Regions from separate parts of the Homo sapiens genome. Here all the other regions are linked to region 3. Evidence: promoter capture Hi-C in 16 types of primary human blood cells and fetal thymus (Javierre and others, 2016). All regions are on one chromosome and are shown on one strand. The core of a region is centred on a gene start or on the middle of the fragment in contact, and the rest is flanking DNA. Distances in the headings are between cores, read along the strand shown.

Region 1 (3,360 bases), core at 203-2,702, 7.4 Mb after region 3:
CGGCCTCCCAAAGTGCTAGGATTACAGGTCTGAGCCACCGCGCCTGTCTGCCACTCGTTTAATAAATGGTCGTTACTCAAAGAGTGGTGATGGGGCCACTCTTGATTATCAATCCTTCAAACAGAAAAGCCCTTTTCTGTGACTCTTTTCCTTCCAAGCTGACTTTAGAAGTGTGTTTGTGGCCGGGCGCGGTGGCTCACGCCTGTAATCCCAGCACTTTGGGAGGCCAAGGTGGGCGGATCACGAGGTCAGGAGATCGAGACCATCCTGGCCAACATGGTGAAACCCCGTCTCTACTAAAAATACAAAAAATTAGCTGGGCTGAGTGGCGCGCGCCTGTAATCCCAGCTACTCCGGAGGCTGAGACAGGAGAATGGCGTGAATCAGTGAGCCAAGATCCCACCACTGCACTCCAGCCTGGGGACAGAGCAAGACTCCGTCTCAAAAAAAAAAAAAAAAAGTGTGTCTGTAAATGTAGTTCAGAACTTCGGAGCCCTGTCTTTACAGTTCAAACTGACCACGCGAAGACTAAAGGCAGTAGAGGTACTTTCTACAAATTTAGCCGTGCAATCTAATAGCGAGCAGGCCGAGACGCCCGCGATTGAAGGCCGGGGTGGAGAAAGTAATAAGGGCCCTGGAAATTACCCCCATCCCATGTCACCCACTCTTTCTTAAAATGCCATTAAATTCCGTTCAACTTTTTATCTCCCATGCAAGAAACTAGCGACTTGCCAGCCACGCCACTTCCAGCCAGTCACACCTGGCGTATTCGCCGCAGAATCTCCAACTCCCGCCACAGGTTTGGGACGTGTCCGCCCCTAAGCGGAAGTGACGTTCAACGGGACAACGTGAAAGTAGATGAGTTTAAATACGTACTAATAATTTAAAACCCCTATGGTATTTTGAGGAAACTCTTCCGGCTACCCTTCTTCCATCACTTCTCTCCCGTTAGGGTTGCGAAAAGGGCTCTGTACAGCCTCGCGACAACTCGTTCTCCGCCCTAATTTCAAGTCATTCAAAACTCTGTCCCTTTTCATTGGCTGAAGCGGCGGCATGGGTACCTCTCAGGAACTACAATTCCAGCCAAGCACCGCGACAAGTGAACGGAGGAGAAGTTATGAGTAGGGGAAAAGCATGTTGGGAATCGTAGTCCGCTCCAGGCCGAAAAGAGCAATCACCCCGCCCTCCGCCACTGAAGCTGGAGAAACCAGGTGTTCGTTTCAGAACCCGTTAGCGCTAAGGGGAGGAGCCAACCCCTTAAGCAGCATGCCTCACTTCGCCCCACATGGAGGATAATTTTCCTTTACCCCTAAAAAGCACTATAAATACCCACTGAGGAGATCTGGTTGTCTTTTAAATACCTCGAGTCAGTAAAAACTCACGAAACTCCGCACCTCAGGCTCCAACTCGTGGGAAAAGGTAGCTCTTTTACAAGTGGGCAAAATGGCTGTCCTCCTAGTTTTACCATTGGTTGGCTTTTGCGTCCTTCAAGGGCGGTTACTTACCACGGATTGGTTCTTTTTCTCTTGAGGTTGGAGGAAGATTTGGCACGGCTCTCCGCGGCCTGGGAGGAGGTAAAGGGGTGGAGAGAAGACAGTTTTTTTCAAGCTTGATTGGGCAAAACTCATGTCACTCCGGGGACGTACAACCTATGAATAGTCGGCTGCCGCTCAAAGAGAACGAAGAGGCGGGGCTAGTGCGTGGTGGGAAGGGGCGGGATTCTGCCAGCCGCGGCTGCCGCTGGAGCCGGTGTCCGGGCTGGTGATGGGGTTAATTCCCTTTCGTAAGACTCTTACTTGCACCCACCCAGCCCCGCCGTCGCCCCGCCGCGCCGCGCTCCAACCGCCTCCTCCTCCTCAGTAACGCGGGTAAGAGATGCCCTTCCCTCCCCCGTCCAGCTCCCCGGGAATAACGCGCCTTGCTCCCCTCCCCCGCCCGCCAACCGGTAGCGCTAACGGAGAAGGAGGCAGGCAGGGGAGAGATGTGGTGTGTGGAAAGGTGGCCTTCCCCGCCGGGTCGTCGGCGCTTCAGCCAGGGCCTTCTGACGTCCCGCTGCTGCCAGCCCGCCGTTAGGTCGGGTTCCGAGTGAGCCAGGCTCGCCTGGCCCGCGGCTGCGGCTCCGGCTGCAGCTGCAGCCACTGCCTTGTGCCCACCGCCCCCACCCGGGGGCCATGTGAAAAGCAAACCCCTCGAGGCCTAGCGGAGGAGGCAGGGGAAAGGTTTCCGAGTCCCTGCCATGGCTGCTGCTGCTGCCTCCGCGGCTGCTCTTGCAGCCCCAGGGACTCGGGAGCCAGCCACAGCAGGCCTGCCAAGAGCGTGGTACTGCTCTCTCGTGTGGCTGGCGCCGGTGCCCCGGGCTCCCCCGGCCGCCCCACGGCCGCATCCCCTGGCCTTGCACCAAGAGAATTTTCAGCTTCGACCGGTTGGTAAAATGTAGGTACATTTTCCCTGTGGTACCAGAAAAAGCACAATGGGAATATTAAAAAGAAAGTTGAATGACTGTCAGTGCCACGGTCCCCCGGGATCAGATTTACACACGTTTTGATTCCTGAGCCTTAGGCTGCCAACAAATCTTTGTGGGCTTTGAAGTTTTTTGGTGTTTTGTTTTCTTTTGTTGCTGTGACTAGGTGCAAAGGGTGACTCTGTTGAGCTTGTTTTTATAAAGAAACTTAAATTATTGGGACTATCATGCTCCGTGTGTAATTGTCCTGGGATAGTTAAGTAAAAGGTGAAGAAGAGGTGCTTTCCAAATTAGGATTAGTGAACAGCAAATGGTTTTTCTAATAAAATTTTCTAAATATATATATATATATCTTCATGGTTATAGTTTACCTAATTGTAACTGTAAGAAACCTTTTTTAGCTTAAATATCATTGATGACAAAAACTTTTAAATGAAAAGATGATTAAAGTCAAACTGAAAGTCTACCCATTTATAATATGTGAAACAAGATCTTCTAAGTAATAGGATACCAGTCTGACAGGAATAATTGGACACGTCTCAATTTCTAAAAATTTGGCATATTTGGCTATTTTTAGGGCATTCTGTTATGATTTCTTCATCACATTTTGATGGAGTACGCTCGTCTTTTCAAATACCACTCTGCTTTTATGCCTGGAAGAATATGTCTTTAAATCATGGATTCTATAGTCTGTAGTAGACATAACTGTGATCAGAGATAAAATTCTAGGCCCATTTCTGAGGTTTACTTGTTAGCAGAATAAACTTGGGTTCTGAGGAAACATCTGAGTTTTGATCATTTCTTCAGGGTTTGAGAAGACTATGGTGGCTTAATGATCTTCTGTATTCCATAACTAGTACACCTAGTTACAGAATTGACATAGATACATTCAGGTCCTG
Region 2 (2,999 bases), core at 379-2,878, 6.6 Mb before region 3:
CTGTGAAAATTTTTATCTGTAATACATCAGCTTAAGTCTATGGAGTCACACCATTTGTGCAAGTACACACACACACCCTCGCACGTGCATGCACGCGCACTGGCCAGCTGACCTCAAAACACATCTCTTGCCCCTACCTGGGGATTAGCAGCTTGATCCATGATCTTTAGCAGCAGAGTTTGGTCCTGCTCCCTCACAGAGTCTTTAGCATCTCCTAGTCTGTCTATTAGACTTGGCAGCACTGAAAATCAAAATGGAAACTGATCAAATGAAACCCTATTTGGGGGTCTGTGGTCACCAAGTATTCCTATCTCAATTATGTGGGAAGACAAACCCCTGACCTAAATGATGTATCTCATTCTAAAACCACTCATCTTTGCTCACAGCTCTACTCTCCTTGCTGAAGTCCATGAAAGTCACCAAAAGAGTCTGCAAAATCCTTTGCATGGACAGATACACTATTTGTCTTCCTCCTTACCCCACGTTCCTCCAGCCAGTTCCCAACGTATTTGTAAGCTGATAAAAATGGAAGACCTTGAGAGGAAGAGTCAACAGAAAGGAAAATTTAGGTAAAACACAAGGAGAGGGGCTCCAGTATATGTGTTTGGGGGTGGAAGGAGTGGGCACTTATGAATAAATCTTAAGTTTCATCACTATTGTGTATTTTTAGTTTTACATCACGCCCATACACACATGAGACAGAGCCCAGCTCTCCATCTTCCCCGACATACCCAGGGTGGACCCTCCCACCAGTGGTCCAAGTGCACCTGTAGACCAGAGATCAGCTTATTTTAAGAGTTTGTAAACCTCTATTACATGAGATATCCCTGAATAATTCAGCTAATTTAGGAGGAAAATGGAACACTATTAAAATATCAAATGTCTAAAAGTAAAAGCTTTTTTTAAATTTGTAAACAGTCGGTGCTCATGACCTTTTCAGAAGGAGCATATTGGTCGGAAAGTTAACAGTAAAGAATACATGTGTACCAACGTAAAACAGAGAAATTCCATAAGGAAATGGTTGCATAGAGATGCTTAGTGTTTATACTACCCCCATGAAACACCGGAGGTCAGGAATTTAGAGGTATTTAAATCTATGAAATCTGTGGGTTTTGTTTCATTTTGCTGACATACTGTTTTCCCTTCAAAATAAGAGTGAACATTTACTATACATTTGTAATGACATTTACAATCAAGGTGAAAATAGTCATGCCAACCATAATCATCTGGAGAAAAATACAACTGGCTTGGTTTTATAGGATTTCTCAAGGAAAACTGCCTCTCATTAAAGGGGACCGGGGTCAGGGTAAAATATGACTTGGTTGGCACTAAAGAGTGACAGCTAATTTAGCATAAGAAATAAAAATGGCACTAATATTTCATATTAGAACACGTATTACTAAGTTCCGTGTGAGAACACAGTGAAGCCAGTACAAAGGTATGGGGGAGGGTAAGGGCGCCCGCAGGCCCAGAGGCCAGGGGAGTCCAGCTGGAAGGGAAGGCAGCGGGGCGGCCGACCCAGGCTGCGAGTGCTTAGGGGGGCTGCGGGGGAGGGCGGGGACTGGCTGTTTGGGAGGAGCGGAAGGGAGGGAGAGGGGGCTGGAGGGGAGGCAGGGTGGCTGCCGGGAGGGTTTGGGAGCCGGGGAGGCCGAGGGAAGGCTGGGGGTCTGAAGGGGCCGGGTCCGCTCCACAAGTGCCGCAGCTCACCTGTGCCGATCTGCGCCTTGAACCGATCCTGCAGCCGGGTCACCAGGGCGGACAGGATGTCCATGCCCAGCAGAACCACCTGCAGCGGGAAACACCGGGAGCCTGTTAGCAGCCGGCCTGCGGGGCAGCGCTCCCGCCCACCCGCTCCGGGGAGGCCTAGACATTTCCGGCCCAGACGCAGTCCGAGAGTCCAGACGCATGCCGACTGGAGGACCAAAGAGATTAGCACGAAGAAGGATGATCTTCCACAAAAAGAGCTATGTACAGCTATAATGGAAAATACTCGGTGAGGAGAAACGAAATAAAAGGCAATACAGCGTAGCCAAACCCGGGTTAGCTGCGGGTGGAGTTCAAGAGCGCGCCGCGGTCCCGCCCCCGCCAGCCCCGCCCCGGCGAGAAAAGCGTATGCAAATTTTCGAGCGGCCGACGCGCGGTCTTCTGGGTAAAACCGAGCCGCCGCTTTTGCGACCCTTCGGGAGCCTCAGAAAACAAAGAATTGGGGTGTCGTCGAAAGCTGTGGAGGCTGGAGGTAAGCTAGCTACCAGACCGACTAGGGCGAGGCTCACGAATTAATTACCACAACCCTACCAGGTATTGGCGCTTCCTGCTTGCAGCCCAGGGACTTTCTATTATAACCATCCTTTTCTTGGGGTTGCGCTACTGTCCAATGAGCGCATAGTGAGGGCAGTACTGCTAACGCCTGAACAACACACCCGCATCAACTAGAGCTTTTGCTTTATTTTGGTGCAATTTTTGGAAAAATGAAAACCTGTTTTCATAGACTTATCAGTTCAAACAGCAGTAATTCGTAAATAAACTAGTACTTTGTGGTTAAACCAGTAGAGGGTGCACAAGACGCGTGGTTTTAGTGTCGCAAGTAAAGTTCTTTCAGTTTTTGCGGTGATTAAACGGGAAGGATTTCAACAGAACTTCACCCCTTTAACTTTACGCCGATCATCAACTGTTCTGTAACTTCCTTATGCTGAGTCAGCCCAGTAGTCTAGGTCAAGTTTCAATAGGAGACGAAGTTTCAGTAGGTCTTTGCACCTCACATAAAATGTAATCCAGGTCGGGCGCGGTGGCTCACGCCTGCAATCCCAGCACTTTGGGAGGCCGAGGGGGGCGGATCACGAGGTCAGGAGATCGAGACCATCCTGGCTAACACAGTGAAACTCCGTCTCTCCTAAAAATACAAAAAATTAGCCGGGCGAGGTGGCCGGCGCCTGTAGTCCCAGCTGCTCGGGAGGCTGAGGCAGGAGAATGGCGTGAATCCGGGGGGGTGGAGCCTGCAG
Region 3 (3,329 bases), core at 756-3,255:
CAAAATTTAAAAATAAACAGGAACAAAATTACAATAGAGAATGTCAATTCCAAATAAGATCCTAGAGGTTCTGCTGATTCTCCCACTGAGTGGCAGGGCTCAAGTCATCATTAGGAGAGAATTTATTTTAAAAGCGTCATCTTAAACTGCAAGGATGTGTGTCAAACATCGCAATTAAACATGCCAAAGGAGAAGCCATGTTGTCAAAATGTCCGCTTAACCCACCCAAACATCTCAGACCCACCCTTTGCTGACTTCTAGAATCCCATTTTTTAAAGTTTTTTTCTTTTTTTAAACAAGAGAAAGTAGACAGAAAGATGTTGGTAAATGCTAACTGTCCATATTCACATAGAGACCCAGTGTACTCTCCGAGCCCAATATACAGAGAAAGCAGGAAGAAAGCTAGAATTGAATGCTCTGCTACACATGGGCCTAGAGCCCTCCAGCTTCCAGCAGGGCGAAGGGAGCAGGTTTTTCTTTTTTCCCACAGAGCTGGGGTGATGTTGATTCTATACAGTTTTTGCTCAGACAGGAAGGGATAAAAATGAATTTCGAACAGAAAGGGGTAGAGACTCTTTTCCCATTGTATTCTGCTGAAGTTATTTCCCCCAAAATAAGTTGAGAACTATAGTGTAGAGAAAAGAAACCTCAAGAACAGGGCGACTGAGCACAAGAGAGAAAAAACAAAAAACAAAAAAACAAAAAAACTGCAACTTGCTCCCAGGGACTGGAGAAAATGTAAAAAAAGGAAGGTTGGAATCCATCAGTGTTTTTTTGCTGTTGTTGTTGCTGTTTTTTTTTTTTTTGAGATGGAGTCTCCCTCTCTCGCCCAGGCTGGAGTGCAGTGATGCGATCTCTGCTCACTGCAAGCAACCTCCGCCTCCCGGGTTCACGCCATTCTCCTGCCTCAGCCTCCATCCTCAGCGTGAGCCACCGCGCCCGGCCTCCATCAGTGTTCCATTAGTCATCTCCTTCATCCTCCTCTCCTTCCTCCCCTTCATCATGTTGGCTCATGTTTATTTATTAAAATTATTTTGGGCCGGGCGCAGTGGGTCACGCCTGTAATCCCAGCACTTGGGAGGCCGAGGCGGGTGGATCATCTGAGGTCAGCAGTTCGAGACCAGCCTGGCCAACAGGGTGAAACCCTGTCTCTACTAAAAATACAAAAATTAGCCAGGCGCGGTGGCGCACGCCTGTAATCCCAGCTACTGGGGAGGCTGAGGTGGGAGAATCGCTTGAATGCGGGTCGGGGGGTTGGGGGGTGGGGGGCGCGGGCGGGGGCGCGGAGGTTGCAGTGAGCCGAGATCGCGCCACTGCATTCCAGCCTGGGAGACAGAGCGAGACTCCAACTCCAAAAAAATATTTTTGGCTTTTCATTCACTTTGACTTAATATACTTAAAAATATACCCTCCAAAGAGGTATTCATTTTTGGGTGGGTTAAATGCTACCTATTCCAAAACAATTTTAAACTGGTTTATATTAGTTAAAAAAAAAATACTAAAAGGACAAAGTAGTCCCTGTAGACTAAGCTGCCGCTGTCCGAATAAGAAAGCTCAAGCGGCTCATAAAATTTAAAAAGTCTTCCTTTCATCATGCCTCCTGGAAGGTAGCTATCAAAATTTTAGGGTTTAGTATAAAGTCTAAGATGCTCAGAAACATTAAGACAATTGTCCTTACTGTGCCACCGAAAGGCTAAAGGGAGTAAGCTTTTAACAAAGGTTTAAGGGAGTAAGTCCCAGAGTCCAAACTGGATTTCACCGACTGACTGTTGAAGCTTTCGGGTCTCAGCTGTTGGCCCAACGAACCTTCCCAAGACCTTGAAGACCGGCAGCCTACCCGCCACCCTGAAAGGCGGAAGTGAGGAGAGAGGCAGGACTCCCCCCTCCCCAACCCTCGGAGATGAGAGGGCGACCGCGCGACGCTCTGGGCTGCTAGGTCTCGACTCGGTATCCGGAAGTCCTCCAGCGTTCGCCTGCAGGAAGCGGAAGTAAAAGGGCGGCCGGCAGCTGGGCAATTGCTTTGCGAGGCTGGGTGTTGAGTCGAGCCGCGGGAAAGGCGCGTGTCGGCCTCTCACTGGCGCAGCCTGCACTGCCGCTGCCGCCTCGCCCCGCCCTGCCCTGGCGTTGTCTCTGGCACTGTGGCGGACTGACCACGGCCCGGGCATGGGCTGCAAGGGAGACGCGAGCGGTGCGTGTGCCGCGGGTGCGCTGCCGGTGACAGGTACCCAGGGGTGGCGTGAGGAGGCCTCGTGGACAAAGAGAGGGTTTGGGGCACAAGGCGACCCTGTGCCCCTGTCACATTGAGCTTCCGCCTCTACCGTGACTCAGTTTACCCTCTGGTGTCCTATCCCTTCCCCTATTCGCGAGCGCCCCGAGTTGCCCTCAGTGGTCTTCTTGGCAAGGTATCGCTTCCGCGGGGGTGGCGGCGGGCTCTGTTCAGCGGTCTTGAACCTTCTTTGAAGAGCTTTAGATCCTTGTGCCAAGTGCAGAAGGAAATGGGGGAGGTATCCTACCATGGATTTAGACCAAGCTTGATCCTCAGTGAGTTGAGAAGCAGCACTTTGCAGGACCCTGATTGCAGAACGACGTGCTTTTTAAAATAGATTTCAATTTTTCCTAAAATGAATTCGGGTTGATGCGTATTGGTTACTGTTTTCTTTTAACACTGTGATCTGTTGGCTGGAAATTGGATGATATGGTTTCACTTTTAGCGTGGGACCTGCCAGAATGAGATCTGCGTCCGTCGCCAATAACTTATAGATGTGAACTGTTTTTGTTCCTTGGCCAGAATCTGCAGTTGTTTTGCATTTCTTGCCAGATTTGAGAAGGAGCAATTTTGTTCGTTTGAAGTCCTGGGGTCTTTTGCCTTATTGTGCTACACTAACTGTTTTGGAAACATTCATTGATGTACTTGCCAGCCAATTTTAGTGTAAAGTGCCCTCTTTCCTTCAAGAATCTTACACTTGCAGGCGTTTGAAGACATTTTAAATAGCTATTTAACAGCACCACAAAACTTGGAATAATTGTAGCCTTTTCACTTTGCTTTTTTTTTTTTTAAGCCAGTCGAATTTAGCAACACTTGACTTGCTTTTGATAAACTTAGCTGAAGCTTATTTTAAAAAAATTCTTATTTATTTATTTATTTATTTATTTTGTAGAGATGAGGTCTTGTTACCTACCAGTCTGATCTTGAACTCCTGGCCACATGAAACTTATTAAAGGAAGTGACCATAATACTTTGTACAGTAGCATAGCACATTTATAATGCACATTGAACTTCAGGGGAATATATGAAAGTAAGAAGAAAATTTGCTTAGAACTTTCCTGCA
Region 4 (3,162 bases), core at 339-2,838, 6.3 Mb before region 3:
TATAATGAGAATTAAATATGATCCTTCATGTAAAGAGTTTAGAATAATGTCAGAAACAAAGCAAGCAATAAATTATCATTTAGTTGATAAGAATCATTCCAATTCATCTGGCGAGTGCAACACACACACACACTGTATTTGTGTATGGAATAACTGTTCAAGAACACACACACAGTATGTGTGTATGAAATAACTCTTCAAGAACAAAGGGGAAACCGTTATAGGGCATGAAAGGGGAAACCGTTATAGGGCATGGAAGGGGAATTAGGACAAGGTGTGAGTGGAAAGAGAAACATCCCACCGCACACGCTTAAAAAAGCCGTTTAATTTAAAAATAGGTAATACAGCCATACAGAGAAGACATTAAAAGATCTACACAGAAAATTTTCGCTCCCAATCCATTCCCTACTCACAGTCCTACATACGTTACTTTTATTTTCCTTTTTTTTGGAAATGCACTGGCCCCCTACTCTCTCACGAAGGCTGAACTCTCTCTACATTCTTCTGCACCTGTTTTTTGTGCATACTCTTTCGTTGTCAAATATTTCCCTCCAACTGTTGTTGTGTATGAAATAAATACACACATATAAGCTAACCAGCCCCACTTGCCCGCACCACCTACACGCCCGTCCCCGCCCTCCCTCAGGCCCACGTGCTCCGAGGGCCGCCTTCGCAGGTTGTTTCTGGCGATGCCTGTCTGAAGGCCTCAGACTGAGGCCCCGCCCACTCTCCCTCTCCTCTGCCCTTTGGACGCGCGCCTCGGTTCCGAACGCAGCGGACGGCGCCTCAGGCAGCGCGGCGGACAGCCCGTCCTCCGGCGCGCCGCGAGCCTCGGAGGACCCTAGCGACGGTCGTGGCGTAAGACCGGGGGGACGCGGCGGTAGCGGCGGCCGTTGCGATTGATTGCGCTGGTTGCCTGCGGCGTCCACTTCCTTGGCCGCCCTTGCTACACTGGCTGATTGTTGTGCAGCCGGCGCCATGTCTGTGAGCGAGATCTTCGTGGAGCTGCAGGGCTTTTTGGCTGCCGAGCAGGACATCCGAGAGGCGAGCCCCCTCCCTTCCCCATTCCCTTTGCCTTTCCATGCCTAGTTGGGCCACTTCGCCCGGCCCTCCTCTGTCGCTCAGTCTCGGGCGGTGGGGACGCCTCCGAGGGTGGGTTGCTTCCCCTCTAGCTTTAGGTTAGGCACTCCCCGCCCCCGCCCAAAATTTTGCTGCTCTGTCCTGATTCCCCGTGTTCGAGTCTCAGCTTCTCAGCATCACTTGCCTCGTTTGTGTCAGTTTTCCTTCTTTTCAGCACTTGTTTATATCGAAGGCTCGATTAGCACCTGGTCTTCAGCGAATGAGCGTTTCGTGTATTTTTGTTGGTGTCTTAAAAGCACATGTGATCTGCTTAAAACTCTCCTGTGATTTCCTATGCCACACAGGATAAAAAATCAGACTCTACTGTGGCTCACATGGTTTCTCTTCAATCTCGTTTATGCTCTCTGTCTTTGTGTATGATGTTCACTTTACCTCTTCTAGTGCCCCAAATAGCTTCCTGCCTGTTTGCTTTTCCTGGAATTTGCTTCTTTCCCGTTCTTTTCCTGATTGTCTCGTATTTATCTCATTGGCGTCACAGTCTAAGCGATCTATTTCCTGTTATGTTTTCTAGTAGCACATTAACTTTTTTTAATGTGTGTAATATTGATTATTTTAAAAAAATCTTCTCCCTCATTGTATGTTAAACCGCCAGAGGGAAGGGATTGTGTGCTTGGTTCCCCGGTATTTACACAGTGCCTCGCACATAAGTATGCTCAGTGAATATTTTAAAAATGAATTAGAGGCGGGGAGCGGCGCCTCATGCCTGTAATTCCAGCATTTTGGGAGGCCGAGGCGGCCAGATCACCTGAGGTAAGGAGTTTGAGACCAGCCTGGCCAACATGGGGAAACCCTGTCTCTACTAAAAATATAAAAGAACATTAACTGGGCATGGTTGCGCACACCTGTAATCCCAGCTACTCGGGAGGCTGAAGCAGGAGAATGGCGTGAACCCGGGAGGCGGAGGTTGCGGTGAGCTGAGATCGCGCCACTGCACTCCAGCCTGGGTGACAGAGCGAGACTCCGTCTCAAAAAAAAAAAAAAAAAGAAAAAAGAATTAGAAATACCCGACTCTTGTGTTGCATTTAACTCTTCATTTTGCAAGTTGCGTTCACACACGTCATCCATTATAATGTCCCAATTGAATACTTGGGTTTAATGGGTGGCTATTATTCTTTAAAGGGTATCTGAGGAATCTAAGGCTTTTTAGTGACTTTTTGAAGTCTTACAGAGGAAATAAGTGGAAAAGTCAGGATTCAAACTTGGTTATGATAGATCACATAAGCTATCTAATGTGTTTTGTGTGAGTGTATGACAATGATTCTGTTGAGTATCTGATTTTTATTTTTAATTCTCTCTAGGAAATCAGAAAAGTTGTACAGAGTTTAGAACAAACAGCTCGAGAGATTTTAACTCTACTGCAAGGGGTCCATCAGGGTGCTGGGTTTCAGGACAGTAAGTTCTTTGTTTTGTATCCAATTATCAGTCTCTTATTTAGAGGGAGAGTTTCTATCCAGAAGACATTTTATAATGAAAAATGGCTATCATGCTTTATGGTGAGTAAAAATTGAAGAAGTAGGTGATTTGATAATTTTGGTTGATTTTTCTTCCACTTCCACACAGTATGGTTTAAACAGAGATGTTTTCTATTGCGAGGGCATTCTACTGATGATAATTACAATTGCTTAACCCATTTCCTGTTTAGAAAAAAAAAGTGCAGCTCTCTGCCAGCACAGTATTCTCAGGGTAAGCGGGAAAAGGGTTTATTATTATTTTTTTAATTTTTTTTTTTTCTGAGACGGAGTTTCACTCTTGTTGCCCAGGCTGGAGTGCAGTGGTGCCATCTCAGCTCACTGCAACCTCCGCCTCCTGGGTTCAAGCAATTCTCCTGCCTCAGCCTCCTGAGTAGCTGGTGTTACAGGTGCCCGCCATCACGCCCAGCTACTTTTTTTTTTTTTGGTATTTTTATTAGAGATGGGGTTTCACTTTGTTGGCCAGGCTGGTCTTGCACTCCTGACCTCAGATGATCCGCCTGGCTGGGCCTCTCAAAGTGCTGGGATTACAGGCGTGAGCCACTGCACCTGG

Evidence for each region. Contacts are between HindIII fragments. The CHiCAGO score rates a contact against its expected background, and 5 or more counts as called.
Region 1: the fragment with the promoter of ZRANB3 here is called in contact with the fragment with the promoter of UGGT1 in region 3 in 2 of 17 cell types (monocytes and total B cells); the score reaches 5.5 in monocytes.
Region 2: the fragment with the promoter of CLASP1-AS1 here is called in contact with the fragment with the promoter of UGGT1 in region 3 in 4 of 17 cell types (activated CD4 T cells, total CD8 T cells, total B cells and 1 more); the score reaches 6.7 in activated CD4 T cells.
Region 4: a contact is called between a fragment that was not itself captured here and the fragment with the promoter of UGGT1 in region 3, in 2 of 17 cell types (naive B cells and naive CD4 T cells). The highest score is 6.1, in naive B cells.

What each region holds. Positions count from the first base shown.
Region 1 is chr2:135,529,766-135,533,125 of GRCh38, forward strand. ZRANB3 (zinc finger RANBP2-type containing 3) reads right to left here and starts at 1,453. Exons shown (of 21, transcript NM_032143.4): 1 at 1,362-1,453. R3HDM1 (R3H domain containing 1) reads left to right here and starts at 1,719. Exons shown (of 27, transcript NM_001378107.1): 1 at 1,719-1,868. RefSeq lists enhancers at 766-845, 1,196-1,465, 1,434-1,728 and a silencer at 1,696-1,885. The HindIII fragment of the contact is 14,144 bases long and covers 1-1,606 here.
Region 2 is chr2:121,528,540-121,531,538 of GRCh38, forward strand. It overlaps CLASP1-AS1 (CLASP1 antisense RNA 1), which reads left to right and starts at 1,629. Exons shown (of 2, transcript XR_001739683.2): 1 at 1,629-2,236. CLASP1 (cytoplasmic linker associated protein 1) reads right to left here. Exons shown (of 41, transcript NM_001395891.1): 3 at 1,708-1,786; 4 at 138-241. RNU4ATAC (RNA, U4atac small nuclear) reads left to right here and starts at 2,341; the gene lies at 2,341-2,470. RefSeq lists a silencer at 1,499-1,698 and an enhancer at 1,889-2,018. The HindIII fragment of the contact is 3,511 bases long and covers 895-2,999 here.
Region 3 is chr2:128,089,195-128,092,523 of GRCh38, forward strand. It overlaps UGGT1 (UDP-glucose glycoprotein glucosyltransferase 1), which reads left to right and starts at 2,006. Exons shown (of 41, transcript NM_020120.4): 1 at 2,006-2,221. The coding sequence starts at 2,164. RefSeq lists an enhancer at 1,768-2,077. The HindIII fragment of the contact is 755 bases long and covers 1,774-2,528 here.
Region 4 is chr2:121,754,802-121,757,963 of GRCh38, forward strand. It overlaps TSN (translin), which reads left to right and starts at 850. Exons shown (of 6, transcript NM_004622.3): 1 at 850-1,044; 2 at 2,439-2,532. The coding sequence starts at 979. RefSeq lists an enhancer at 715-904. The HindIII fragment of the contact is 5,575 bases long and covers 1-3,162 here.